Regions from separate parts of the Homo sapiens genome. Here region 2 is linked to region 1. Evidence: promoter capture Hi-C in 16 types of primary human blood cells and fetal thymus (Javierre and others, 2016). All regions are on one chromosome and are shown on one strand. Each heading gives the region's core, a stretch centred on a gene start or on the middle of the fragment in contact. The rest is flanking DNA. Distances are from core to core; before and after follow the strand shown. Region 1 holds the start of FURIN (furin, paired basic amino acid cleaving enzyme). Region 2 overlaps CRTC3-AS1 (CRTC3 antisense RNA 1).

Evidence for each region. Contacts are between HindIII fragments. The CHiCAGO score rates a contact against its expected background, and 5 or more counts as called.
Region 2: a contact is called between a fragment that was not itself captured here and the fragment with the promoter of FURIN in region 1, in 1 of 17 cell types (monocytes). The highest score is 5.5, in monocytes.

Annotation. Positions count from the first base shown.
Region 1 is chr15:90,864,895-90,871,952 of GRCh38, reverse strand. FURIN (furin, paired basic amino acid cleaving enzyme) reads right to left here and starts at 3,365. Exons shown (of 16, transcript NM_002569.4): 1 at 3,242-3,365. RefSeq lists silencers at 1-373, 414-623 and enhancers at 1,900-2,194, 2,132-2,241, 1,980-2,274, 2,342-2,391, 1,634-2,833. The HindIII fragment of the contact is 27,514 bases long and covers 1-7,058 here.
Region 2 is chr15:90,676,060-90,683,117 of GRCh38, reverse strand. All of the region lies in intron 2 of CRTC3-AS1 (CRTC3 antisense RNA 1), which reads left to right. Among named protein-coding and RNA genes, the nearest start is that of LINC01585, 19 kb to the right of the region's middle. RefSeq lists enhancers at 1-61, 4,978-5,037. The HindIII fragment of the contact is 4,674 bases long and covers 140-4,813 here.

The DNA of each region.
Region 1 (7,058 bases), core at 2,116-4,615:
CTCGCCCTGGCCCCACGCGGAAAAGTACCAGCCACGGCCGGGGGGCCGAGACGGGCCCGGCGCGCTCAGGTGGGCTGCGGAGCGCCCTGTCTGCTCCCGGCAGCTCCACCCTCGGGGCCGGCCCCGGGGCCAGTTCCGGAAAGCCGGCGGGCAGCCGGGCCCCGGGGGACCCGGGTCAGGGCTGCACCGGCGCCAGTGCCCCGACCCTCCCCGGCCCGAGCACCCGGGCCGCGGAGCCCGCTCCTGGGGCAGAGCTCCACGGCCCGGCCCGGCCGGCTCCCCTCGGGCCCGGCTCCCAGACGCGCTTGCCTTCCCCGGGCCCCGGGCCCCGCGCCCTCGCTACTTACCCTGGGGAGCCCTGGCGGGGAAACTTTTCCAGGCGACCGCCGCGGCGGCTCGGGCGCCCCTCGGCCGCCCATGCCGCCCGGGCCCGACTGCGGGCCCGCGTTCCCAGCGCCGTGGGCCCCAGCGCGTCCGGCCCCGCGCGGCGGCCCTGCGGGGCCTTCTGGGGCGCCCGCTGCCTCCGGCTCCTGGTAGGGGCAGGTAGGAAGTGGGGCAGGCGATCCCAAAGTCCTCGCGGCCGCCCGGCGCGTCCCTCAGGCCCCGCTGCCGTGCCCCCGCCCCCGGGCTCGGCTCTTCGCCCCGCGAGCTCCCCGGGAAGACGGCCGCGGAGACCCGAACTCGGAACCAAAGGGAAAGGCTTGGGGGAGGCACTCCGAGCCCTGCCTCAGCCGGACTCTTGGGGGACTGGCCCTCTCCGTCCCCCGCTTCCCCACTCCTGGGCGACGAATTTGAGCCTGACCGGGTTAAGTGCCCAGGGACGGCGGACCTGGGGTCCTCCACTCCCAGGTCGAGGGAGGACTGCACGGCGGCAGGACCAGCCTCCTCTTGGCCTACTGTTAGAGGAGTCACGACTTCGTCTGCATTTGTATAGACAGGTGGATATATGAGCAGAAGTAGCCCACCTCCTTTTAATATTTTTAGCTTTTTTTTCTTTTTAGACACCAACCGCTTGCCAGGCACCAGGCCAGTCACTTTACATTATCTCCTTCTTATGTACATGATTTAATCCACATAATCCTTTCAGGCTGAGATTATTAATCCCATTTTACAGATAAGGAAACTGAGGCGCACAACGTTTAAATAATTTGCGCAAAGTCCCACAACCAGCAGACCTCAGATCCTGCAAGAGACTGGGGTGTTTGGCAGAGCCTGAATCCAAGCTACTTGCAATATACCAGCCGGAGCCTCTCCCTCCCTGGGCCCTAGAAAACGTTTGTGCTACTTGGCTGAGGCCGACGCTGCTTGAGCTGAGAAAGAAAAGAAGGAAAATGTGGCCAGGAGCTTCCCAGGCTGGGTTATTCCAAGGTCGCAGAGTAGCCTGTGCCCATCTCTTCTCGCTCCCTGTGAGATAACCTGGCTGCACAGGATCAGCCTGTGGCCTCCTTAACACAGGTTCCCGGGTAATGGGAAAAAAAAAATCCACTGAGTGTTTTCTATGAGCCAGGCACCATTGAGAGCTCTTTTCCTGTGTCAACCCGTTTTATCCTCACCACATGCCCCATGAGGTGGGTACAGTACATTTTCCTTTAAGTACCTTTGATGTATCACTGTCTGCATTTTATAGAGGAGGAAACTGAGGCCCAGAGAGGTTAAATCATGATAATTCTTAAGGCAACTGGTGAAAAATCAATCAGCAAACCGGTTCAAATCCCTGGGGCACTATTTTTTGCTGGGACACCTTAGACAAGTTAATTTCTCAGGGACTTCCTCAATTTACCCCTCTATAAAATGGAGATAATATTTAGTGAATGGGATCAGGTACGATTCGGGCACCTTTACAAACACTGCAAGAACTGGAAACTGGAGGAACAATGCTGGGTCCTCAAAGTTGAGCGGGAAGATAAGTCCAGTTGGCCTTGTCCCAAAGTGGGGACTTCCCCTCCGCCAAGGAACTAAGACTTGTAGGGGCCACACTGGGTAGCGCCAGCCACAGTTGGGAGAACAATACTCCAGCAGTCAGACTGAGGCAGGAAGTGACTCACGCTTCTTCCTTAGGCTGTGAGCAAGAGAACTCCATTGAGGGGAAACAGGGACAGGGCTGGCCCCACCTACCCACTTGTCCTCAGGCCTAGAAGAAAGGTCAGCCCAGAAAAATAGCAATACTTGCTGCTTCAGGTGCCCCACCCATCCTGGAGACTGGCCCCAGGGGAGCCCGCAGTGGGTCTTTGGAGGGGGAGGGGCTAGCCTAGGCTCAGATGACTGCCACCCAGGCAGAGGCGGTGGGAAGTGGAGCTTCCCAGTTTCTTCCAGCCAGCTTGCCTCTTCAATCTGCATAAGGCAAAATTCTTTAAAGTGGGTTCTCAGAGGTGCCTCCCTGAGAGGGAGGAATGAGGACAGGATTGGGCAGTTGAGCACCTCTCTCTGCTTCACCCAGAGTGTCTCACATTTTAGGGTTTCACATGAGATTGTATTTTACAACAATTCTGCTGCTAAAAAGAATTTGAAAGCCACTCTCTGTGAGACTTCTCTGGAAAAAAATCCCATTTGACCACAACTGGTGACTTCTGCCTTTATCTCATTGCAACAAGTCCTGTGGGCAGGTATTGTTCTCTTTATCACTCTCAACTGGCCCTGGAGCCCAGGTCTCCTGACCTGGGGCCCTAGGGGCCCAAGGTCCTCTGGATCCCACCTTACCAGTTTTACACAGCAGTTAGCAGGACTTGGGCATGTGACAGAAGTCTGGAGATGAGTGAGAGGAGCAGGGCCTGATGGGTAAGTGGGGGCTGTAAAGGGGCTCCATTTTCCCAGCAGGGCTCTGGGAGGAAGAGTCCAGCTAGGCCTCTCTTTATCCTTGATTTGGGGCTAATCCAGAGAGGCTCCTGAGAATCACATAGTCCTAAATCCACCCAGTCATCCTGACTCCAAGCACTCCTGTTGTCTCCTTGGGGTGCTCTGGGAGTCTTCTCTGAAATCTCTGGTCCACCTCAGGCACAGCAAATAAAGCCTTCGGCAGCAGCACCCACACCTAGTTGTAAGCAGAATGTCTACACAACATTCAGACGTGCATAGAAGGGTGCACAACAAAATTCCATTGGTGTTCTCTCCGAATGAAAGGGTCACATTTGCGATCTTTGTTTTCTTCTTTTTGCCTACCTGCATTTTTCAGGAATGTCTACAAGAACTCCTAAAATAATTAAACCTTTAAGTCAATGCAAAATCGAATAAAGCATGTCCATACTTCACCATCCAGCTCCAGAGCACCTGGGATTCATCCTGGCCGCTGCTGCTTCCCCGCCACTCACTGCAGCTGCAACAGTCAGGCTCCTATCCCTTCACAGGGCGGGGCCCTTCCAGTTCTGGCTAAACCACTTTGGGAAAACCTTCTTTATATGACAGGCAAACAGGGTGTCTGTGGGTGGGGGGAGGAGCTAAAAGTGATGTGGTGGTGACATATCTGGTCGCACTGGAACTGGATCCTAACATGGCCAGCCAGCCCTTCTCATTTTCCTCATTTATTGGGGTGGGTCTGCACTTACCTTCTGCCTGGCTTTGCTGCATCCCAGCCACTGGCTGACTTAATGACTTCCTTCCGCCAGCTCCAGCTCCTTGTGTTCTGCCTTGCCTTCCATGGCCAGCCAGTGCTGCCACAATTATGTACCTAATAAATGCTTTGGGTGCAGTCTCGCCTGGCAGACATTCATTGAGCAGCTGCTGAACGCTGGGCTCTGGTGCCCCATAGCTGGGTCCCTTAGAGCTTGTCCATAGGAAGCCAGAGACCACCTCTCTAGTAGGGTTGCATGGAGGTACCTGGGACACACCAGGGTCTTCCTCAGTCTGCGACCTCCCTGGCCTTCCAGCTTCAACAAGCCTGCTGCCCATCCTTCTCTCTCTCGATTCAGAAATGTGAATCACTCAATCCTCATAGTTTTTTTTGTTTGTTTGTTTTATGGGTTTGTTTTTTTTTTTTCTAGACAAGAGTCTCGCTCTGTTGCCCAGGCTGGAATGCAATGGCCTGATCACAGCTCACTGCAACCTCTGCCTTCTGGGTTCAGGCGATTCTCATGCTTCAGCCTCCCAAGTAGCTGGGATTACAGGCTTACGCCACTCGTATTTTTTTTTTTTTTTTTTGTATTTTTAGTAGAGATGGGGTTTTGCCATGTTGGCCAGGCTGGTCTCGCACTCCTGACCTTAAGTGATACACCCACCTCGGCCTCCCTAAGTGCTGGGATTATTAGGCGTGAGCCACCACGCCCGGTCCCCTTGTTGAGTTTTCAATCAGTTTGTCATCCTGAACAGGGTTTCTCAACCTTGGCATTATCAACATCTTGGGTCGGATAATTCTCTGTAGGGGACACTGCACTCTACATTGCAGGATGTTCAGTCGCATCCCTAGTCACTAAACATTAGCTGCTAGTAGCATTCCCGCTCCCATGATGACAACCAAAAAGATCTCCAGGTATTGCCAAATGTCCCTTGGGAGACAAAAATCTCTCCCAGCAAAGAACCACTGTCGCAGAATGAGGAGTGGGAACGTCACAGGATGGTGGTTAGTGTGCCAGGGTTCGAGGCAGCAAGAGTTGTCTGCTGGGAACTAAGCTCTGAGACAGCTAGCAGTGAGGGAGAAAACTCCCAAACTTGAAACTGCCCAGTATGCCAGCACAACAATGGGCCGTTTAGTGATCAGGGCAAACAATCATGCATCCTCATGACATCTGAGATCACTTTCCATCGTGTTGGTGATAATGCTGAATCAAGGAAAGGATCAATCATGTTGATCATACTCCATTTTCTAAGGTGGGGAGGTGTGTGAGCCCTTGTAGCATTAAAGACGTATTTGGAAAACAGATCAGTGCTTGCTTGGGGAAGGGGGCAGGGAGGGGCGGGAGGAAACTTTTGGGAATGATGGACATGTTCATTATCTTGATTGTGGTGATGGTTTCATGGGTGTGTCCATATATCAAAACATATCAAGTTGTACACTTTAAATCCATGCCGTTTATAGTGTGTCAGTTATACCTCAGCAAAGCTGTTTTGAAGATGTGTTGTTTAAAGTTTTAGTGCTTGAAGGGCATTATTTTGAAAATTCACTACTGTGGAGTAGTCCATTTCTTTGCTGAATAAATAAGGGGTCACTGTAGTACTTAAAAAGAAAACAGGAAGAAAAAACAAACAGAAGAAGAAGAAGAAAAGCGATCATGGGCTGTAAGGTCGTCCTAGGCAGGGAAGGAAAGGAATGGCGTGAAGAGTTGGCTCAGTCGCCCCTGAGTGTGGCCCGGAGAGCCTGTCCTCTGGCCTACGGCAGGCCCCAGAGAGTCTTTCCGTTGACTGATGCCATCAAATCAACATGTCTGGAACGGTATTATCAGGGACTTGGGAAAAATAGAATGACAAATGTGCTGGCTGCCAGGAAAGGAACAGATGAGTCTGGAAATTATAGGCTCCTCCACAAACTTTAATCCCTAAAACAAACATTGCTGGGGAAAAAGTCAGTTAATACCTGGAGGAGTGTGAGTGCTGTCCTTCAATGGGGCACGGCACACCTGGGAGCAGAGAGCATTTACAGAAGCCAGACACCGTGTGCCAACCTGTGTCAACAGGCTCATGCTCAAGGGGCTGCACGTGGCAGCAGGGAGCACTGCGAGCGGCAGTGAGGGGCCCTCTCTGACGGTGCAGATGCTTTTTGGCTGATGGAGACCTCTACGGAGGTTCTCAGGAGCCCCTCAGCGAGGCGGGTGAGCAAGGAGAGGGGCTGTGATAGCGATGAGTTATATGTGAAAAGAAAAACTGCTTTTGTGGAGGTTGATTGTGCACTGGGCATTTCATTCACTCATTCCTCAGATACTCATTGAGTGCCTGCTGGGTGCAGGACCTCTTCCAGTGCTTCAGTTATAGCGAGGGAAGCAGGCAGTTCACAGGTGAATAAGCCAGTTTATGAGAGAAGTTCAGATCATCCTAAGAGCTCTGGAAGAAAATGATAAAGAAGGTAATGTGGGAGTGCCTGGGGAAGCGGGAGGGCTGCTATCCCTGGGGTGGTCAGGGAAGACCTCTGGGAGGAGGTGATGTTTGAGCTGAGGCTGAAAAAAGAGGCAAAAGTGTAAAGATCTGGAGGAAGAGTGTCCCAGGCAGAGGGAGAGGCAAGGACATGGGCCTGGGGGCATGAGCTTATGCACTTGGGGAGCAGACACTTCTTGGAGCATGGCCGAGAGATGAGATGAGAGGTAGGTAACGGGCTGGATCACAGAGCACTTGCCAAGCTGGGTCCAGATGTTGAATTTAATTATCAGAGCAATGGGCTCTGGATTCTCAAAATTCTTTTGGAAATTTGACTGATTTACCCTTTAATAAAAATTATTTATTTATTTATTTAGAGATGGAGTCTTGCTCTGTCGTCCAGGCTGGAGTGCAGTGGCGCAATCTCGGCTCACTGCAACCTCCACCTCCCTGGCTCAAGCAATTCCCCTGCCTCAGCCTCCCGAGTAGCTGGGATTACAGGCACACACCACCACACCCGGCTAATTTTTTTGTATTTTTAGTAGAGACAGGGTTTCACCATGTTGGCCAGACTGGTCTCGAACTCCTGACCTCAGTCAGTCCACCTGCCTCAGCCTCCCAAAGTGCTGGGATTACAGGCGTGAGCCACCGCGCCCAGCCATTTTATTTTTATATTTTTAAATTTAATTTAAAAGATGGGCTCTCACTCTGTTGCCCAGACTGGCCTCAAGCAATCCTCCTGCCTCCCCCTCCAGAGGTGCTGGGATTACAGGCGTGAGCCACCGTGCCCGGCAAATTTACCCTTTTTAAAGGCTCCTCTGACTACCATGGGGAGTAGAGATATGGGGGTTCGTGTGGGAACCCACCACAGCCCGACGCAGGAGGCACCATAGGTGACCCTCCTGATGTGAAATGTAGGGGACTGGCTTGGGGGAGTCCAGTGACTTTTTTTTTTTTTGAGACAGTGTCACTCTTGTCACCCAGGCTGGAGTGCAGTGGTGCGGTCTCAGCTCACTGCAGCCTCTGCCTCAGCCTCCCCGAGTAGCTGGGATTAGAGGCATGTG
Region 2 (7,058 bases), core at 1,227-3,726, 190 kb after region 1:
GTGGCGTAATCACAGCTCACTGCAGCCTCCACCTCCTGGGTTCAAGCAGTTCTCCTGCCTCAGACTCCTGAGTAGCTGGGATTACAGGTGCCTGCCACCATGCTCAGCTTATTTTATATTACACTATTAACTTAAAGCTTATGATAAATATTGTTAAATTCCCCTCCAGAAAAATGTGATCAAGTTTTTTTAATTTTTTTTTTTTTTATTTTTTAAGAGATGAGGTCTTGCCATATTGCCGAGGCTGTTCTTGAACTCCCAGGCTCAAGCAATCCTCCTATCTCAGCCTCCTGAGTAGCTGGGACCACCTGTGCATACCACCACACCCGGCTAATTTTTGTATTTTTTGTGGAGATGGGGTTTCACCATGTTGCCTAGGCTGGTCTCAAACTTCTGAGCTCAAACAACCCTCCCGGCTTGGCCTCCAAAAGTGCTGGGATTACAGGCGTGCGCCACCATGCCCAGCCATGCTGGGCTTTGAAAAAGGGCTGCATCAAGAGACAGATGAAGGTCAGTCAAATGTGTGCATTCCAGATGTGGGTCACAAGCATGAGAGAGAGCGGCTGGCTGTTGGTCTAGATCAGTGGTTCTCACTGAGGGTGATTTTCCACCTGAGGGGATGTTTGGCAACGTCTGGAGACATTTTTGATTGTCACAACTAAGGGGTATTACTAGTGGGGGTCCTCTAGTGGGCAGAGGCCAGAGGTGAGGGGGGGATAGGAGGGCCTTGGAAGTTTGAGAGAGTGAAGAATTGAAGTAGTCATCCCATAAGTAGGGGAGCTAGGTGACACACAGTAGGTTGCCAAGTGTGGTGATGGCTACAGGCAAGATGTAAGAAAATGAAGGTTCCAGAGGTGGAGCCAGGACAGATTCCTGGAGGCCATTCGGGGGAGGGGGCTTCGATAGGATCCCCTAGTAGAGCCTGTGTACACTGGGGTCCATGACCCCGGCCCCTCAGCAGAGCTTCGCTGAAACCTGGAGTGGCACTGAGGATCTCTGGGAACAGTTCCTTCTTTTTTTTTTTTTGAGATGGAGTCTTGTTCTGTTGCCCAGGCTGGAGTGCAGTGGTGCAATCTCAGCTCACTGCAACCTCTGTCTCCCAGGTTCAAGCAATTCTCCTGGTTCAGCCTCTGGAGTAGCTGGGATTACAGGCACGTGCCATCACACTCAGCCAATTTTTGTATTTTTAGTAGAGACAAGGTTTCACCATGTTGGCCAGGCTGGTCTTGAACTCCTGACCTCAGGTGATCCTCCCACCTCAGCCTCCCAAAGTTCTGGGATTACAAGTATGAGCCGCCGTGCCCAGCCAGTTCCATTTTCTCTATTGCTGAAGGTCCTAGTGGTCACTCGTCCAACCTCCACATTCCTCAATGGCCCACATCAGATGAGTCAGTTCCTTCATCAGTGATGGCAGTGATTGCAGGGAACGCTCAGCCTCCTTGGCTCTGATTCTGCCTTACCAGAAGGGAGCCCTTCTGACTTGACCTCGTGGGTGCCATCGAGTGTGGTTCCAGCTCCGCATGTTCCTGACTACTCCTGCACAAGTCTGGGAGGTGAGGGATGTGGGAGGCGCAGCTCTCAGAGCCTCTTACAGAAACAACCAGCCTGGTGCTGCGGTGGCAAGAAACAGACACTGACCCCCGACCCCAAGGGAAATTCACAAGAAGGCTATGGAGTCCCTCACAACATGGAAGGGGAAATTGAAGAGCCTGGTCTGGAAAAGACAGAAAACAGGGAGGCCGTGGGGACCTAGAAGCTGGAACCAACTGAGAGTCTCATCTGGCCACACTGTAAAGATGTGTCAGCCCCAACCTCTTCTTGGCTTTTGCTTCCTCCATTCAAGGGTCAGAGTCTGAGTGCCTAGGTGGGCCCAGAGCCTTCCCTCTCCAGCCTCCCTGCTGCCCCAGAGAGGACAAACACCATTTCTGACTCCCCTACATACTCAGAGTGCATTCTCAGGATCACAGTAGAGGAAGGACTGAGAAAATAAGTGCTCATGAGGCTGATGGGCTGCCTTAGCTTTATCAGCAGCAGAAGAATTCTGGGATGCTCACCTCCCAGAAGACCCTCCACAGTTCCCAAGAGCCTCTTCATCCATAATGAGGGTGACAAAACTTCTCTGAGTCACAGACAGCTTTGAGACTGGGATGGAAACAGAGGATTGCATAAGTTTCAGGGGGCTGCTGGACCCCCATTCCTGAATCCTAACTCTGGGACACCTTCTCCAGCCCGTGTCTGCCTGGCTTAGCTGCAGGCCTCATACACTGTCTCCCTAGGACCTGCAGTTGAACCATTCCATGCTCACGGACACGTGGATTACATGAGCAGGGCCCTAGGCCTCCTCCTAACCTCAGATTTTTTTTTTTTTTTTTCTAAAAGGGCAAGGCACTATTTTAGTCACTGTTTTGCAGGGAGAAAAAAATCCTGTTTATCCTTATGATTCATTTTGGTGGTTTTTGGATAATGTTGTATTGATTCATGACGACTCACTCAGCATCTGGTATGAATTAAATGAGACTTTCTCTTTTTGACAGTAAAATGAAAGATCTTAAACAACGCTAACATTAAAAAGAGGCCTGGAGGGAATACAAGAGTTGGAGCAATCCTGGGGACTTGAGTCAGTTCAGTGGGATGCCCTACCACCTTGGCAAAGCCAGCACAGTGCCATGCAGTTCCAGGGCAGTGCTGCTTGTGACCTTATGTCTGCTCCTCATGAGTACCACGATGACTCCTTGCAGGTCCCATTGCTTCCCACCATATGCTGTTTTATCTTGTAGTCATGATCCCAACTGGACAAATGGGGAAACAGAGGCAGGAAGCTGGCATGGATGTGACATCAGGAGTCAGATTTTCTCTGGTTTGTTCCAGGAAGTTTTCCGTAGAATCCCAGAGGACATCCAGTGATTCTTAACGGGGGATGATTTTGGCACCCCCAGGGGTATTGGGCAATGTCTGGAGGCATTTTGGTTGCCACAACTAGGGAGGTGCTACTGGCATCTACCTGCAGTGTCAGAACAGCCTCCAAAGAACAAAATGATCCAGCCCACATGTCAATAGTGCCGAAGTTGAGAAACCCTGCTCTAACCCAAAGGGACTCCAAATCCCAAGTGATGTGGTGGTTGTCAGGGCATTAGCAGACTTAATGCAAAGGCCTCTCAATATGGCAAAACAGATTGTCTGAAAAATTATGTAATTTTTGTGTTTAAAAAGAGTAGAACCTGGGCAACATAGCAAGACCTTGTCTACAAACATATTCAGGCTGAGAAAATGAAAAATAAAAAAAGACCCTGTCTTGGCCGGGTACGGTGGCTCACGCCTGTAATCCCAGCACTTTGGGAGACGGAGGCAGGTGGATCACAAGGTCAGGAGTTCAAGACCAGCCTGGCCAGTATGGTGAAACCCTGTCTCTACTAAAAATACAAAAATTAGCTGGGCGTGGTGGCACGTGCCTGTAGTCCCAGCTACTCAGGAGGCTGAGGCAGGAGAATCACTTGAACCTGAGAGGCGGAGGTTGCAATGAGCCGAGATCGTGCCACTGCACTCCAGCCTGGGCAACAGAGTGAGATCTGTCTCAAAACAAAAGACCCTGTCTTTACGAAAACAAACAAACAAACAACAACAAATATATATAGAGAGAGACAGAGAGAGAGTGTCAGGTATGGTGGTATGTGCCTGTGGTCCCAGCTGCTCAGGTGACTGAAGCTAGTGGATCCCTTGAGCCCAGGAGTTCAAGGCTGTTGTAAGTCGTGACTGCCATGCACTCCAGCCAAGGAGACAGTGAGATCCTGTCTCAAAAAAAAAAAAAAAAAAAAAAAGTATATATCTTGCCTAGATCATGGTCTCTGTATGTCATTCTCTGCTAAAAGAAACTAGGGCTCCTGCCAAATGGCCAGTCCAAGGTTGGGGCAGCTGAACAAGGAAGGTATCATCACTATGGAGTCTGATTAAAAGGACACAGGGGTTCATGTGAAAAGGCTCTCTCTGACCAAATACAGGATGATTTGAGCAACAAAAAGAACAATGCAAGTATGTTAAAATTCGTATTTGTAAGTTGAAAGAGGAGCTTGTGATCAAAAGATGAAAATGTTCCTTGGCCGGGCATGGTGGCTCACACCTGTAATCCCAGCACTTTGGGAGGCCGAGTCGGGTGGATCACCTGAGGTCAGGAGTTTGAGACCAGCCTGGCCAACATGGTGAAACCCCATCTCTACTAAAAAATACAAAAAATTAGCCAGGTGTGGTGGTGGATGCCTGTAATCCCAGCTACTCAGGAGGCTGAGGCAGGAGAATCGCTTGAACCTGGGAGGTGGAGGTTGCAGTGAGCCGAGATTGTGCCACCGCACTCCAGCCTGGGCAACAAGACCAAAACTCCGTCTCAAAAAAAAAGAAAAGAAAAAAGAAAAGGTACCGCCAAATCATGTGACTTCTAGAGGTTTCCTTTATGAAAAAAAAAAAGTGGTGCTTCCATTACCTCTTAAACCCAGATGTTCTCATTTCCTTTAGTGTCAACAGTGGCGGAAAGGGAAGTTTGTATCACCTGTGTTAATGCTGCTCTGGAAAGGGAGCCAGAATGAGAGTGCACAGTGATCACACAGTCACCATCAAATAAACCATGACTACGCACATACTCTGGGATGGCTGCATCTCTCCTGTGGGAAAGAGAGAGATAGAAAGAGAGAGCAACATGTCATCCGATGACTGCAGCCTAGATGGATATGGCTGTGATAGAGTGCTTCAATTGGAATCTGCCTCTTGTAACTGAAAATTACTTTAAACAATAAAAAGAAGTTATTGACTCATAGTCAAGAAAGCTTGACAGTGCTGCAGTGCAGTCCTTGGACTACAGTGGTCCACAAACTGTTATTGGTCCACGATAAGATATCTATGTGGCTGCAAGATCCACGTGCATGACCCTTCTTTCCTACCTTGTTGATGATGCTACAGGATAACGAGAACACCTGGGTTTAAGAGGCATAGAAGAACCACTTTTTATAAAGGATACCTCCAGTGGATGAAGCTATATGATTCATCTTTATTGTGTGTTACAAAAGTATCAGTCAATAAAATAACAATAAAACTGAAAATGAAACGGAAAACTGCTGTTATTACAGACAGTTCGAAAAACAGTGGCCTAGAGTGGTGATTCCCAGTCCTGGCTGCTCAACAGAACTACCTGGTGAGCTTTGACAACTCCCAGTAATGAGGTTCATTCCCAGGGATTTTCATTTAATTGGCCTGGGGTGGGGCCAAAGCATGGCTAGTTTTAGAAGCTTGCCAGGTAGTTCTAATGTGTAGTGAGCGTTGAAAACTAGTGGTTTGGATTCAGGTTGGCCTCAGCTGAGGCTTTATCCAGTGGTCAGGAATGTCACCAAGGCCTGGTGGTCTCATAGCACTAAATGGTCATATTAGAAAAGGAGAAAGAACTCAAATCAATGACCTCAGCTTCTACCTCAAGAAACTAGAAAATGTTCAAGTTCTTCTGCTCTGACCTAAAAGGTGTAAAAAAATAAATGTAGGGGCCGGGCGCGGTGGCTCAGGCCTGTAATCCCAGCACTTTGGGAGGCCGAGGCAGGCGGATCACCTGAGGTCAGGAGTTTGAGACCAGCCTGGCAAACATGGAGAAACCCCGTCTCTACTAAAAATACAAAATTAGCCAGGCGTGGTGGCGCATGCCTGTAATCCCAGCTACTCTAGAGGCTGAGGCAGGAGAATCACTTGAACCTGGGAGGCAGAGGTTGTGATGAGCTGAGATCACGCCATTGCACTCTAGCCTGGGCAACAAGAGCAAAAACTCAGTCTCAAAAAAAAATTAAAAAAAAAAATTTTAAAGAAACTAGAAAAATAGAGCAAATTCATTCCAAAGTAAGCAAATAAAAGGAAATAATAAAGATCAAAGGGGAGAAATTAATGAAATGGAAAACACAAGAACAATAGAAAAAGTCAATGAAACTGAAAGCTGGTTCTTTGAAAATATCAATAAAATTGATAACTTCTAGCCTGACCGATTATGAAAAAAACAAAACAAAACAAAATACAAATTGCTGATATCAGAAATGAGAGAGGAGACATCACTACAGATTCCATAGATATTGAAAGGATAACAAGGGAACATTATAAACAACTTTATGCCAACAGATTCAATAACTTAGATGAAATGGATAAATTCTTGAAAAACTTAAGAGCTTACTCATGAAGAAATAGGTCATTTGAATAGCCTAATGTTAATTAAAGAAATTGAATTTATAGTTAAAAACCTTGTCACAGGCTGGGCATGGTGGCTTACACCTGTAATCCCAGCACTTTGGGAGGCCAAGGTGGATGGATCACTCAAGGTCAGGAGTTCAAGACCAGCCTGGCCAACATGGTGAAACCCTGTGTCTACTAAAAATACAAAAAATAATTAGCTAAGTATGGTGGCCTTTGCCTGTAGTCCCAGTTACTTGGGAGGCTGAGGCAGGAGAATTGCTTGAATCCAGGAGGCAGAGGTTGCAGTGAGCTGAGATTATGCCACTGCACTCCTGGGCAACAGAGTGAGACTCTGTCTCAAAAAAGAAAACAACAACAACCTTGTCACAAAGAAAACTCCAGGCCCACAATCTAAGACAGTAAACTGTGCCCAGCACAGGGTGGGAGGAGAGTGCTAGCAGCACAGCTTGGAAGGCAGGCAGCTCCTCTGGCTATGAAGTCGAGTTCACTTCCAGGCTAACTTGGACATATTGCAAAGAGATGTTTGATAAATTTGAAACTACAGTTAAATGGCAGCTAACAGCCTCTCACCCATCTTTCCCTAAGGAAGTACTTCAAGATGTCCAACAATCCAGTAGGGCTTTCATTTTATTTTCTTGACTCAAATGTGAGCCTGGTGGGTAGACGCATCTGAGCATTGACTTGTTAAGAAAAACTAACCTGGCCGGGCGCGGTGGCTGATGCCTGTAATCCCAGCACTTTGGGAGGCCGAGGCAGGCAGATCATGAGGTCAGGATATCGAGACCATCCTGGCTAACACAGTGAAACTCCGACTCTACTAAAAATATTAAAAAAAAAAAAAATAGCCAGGC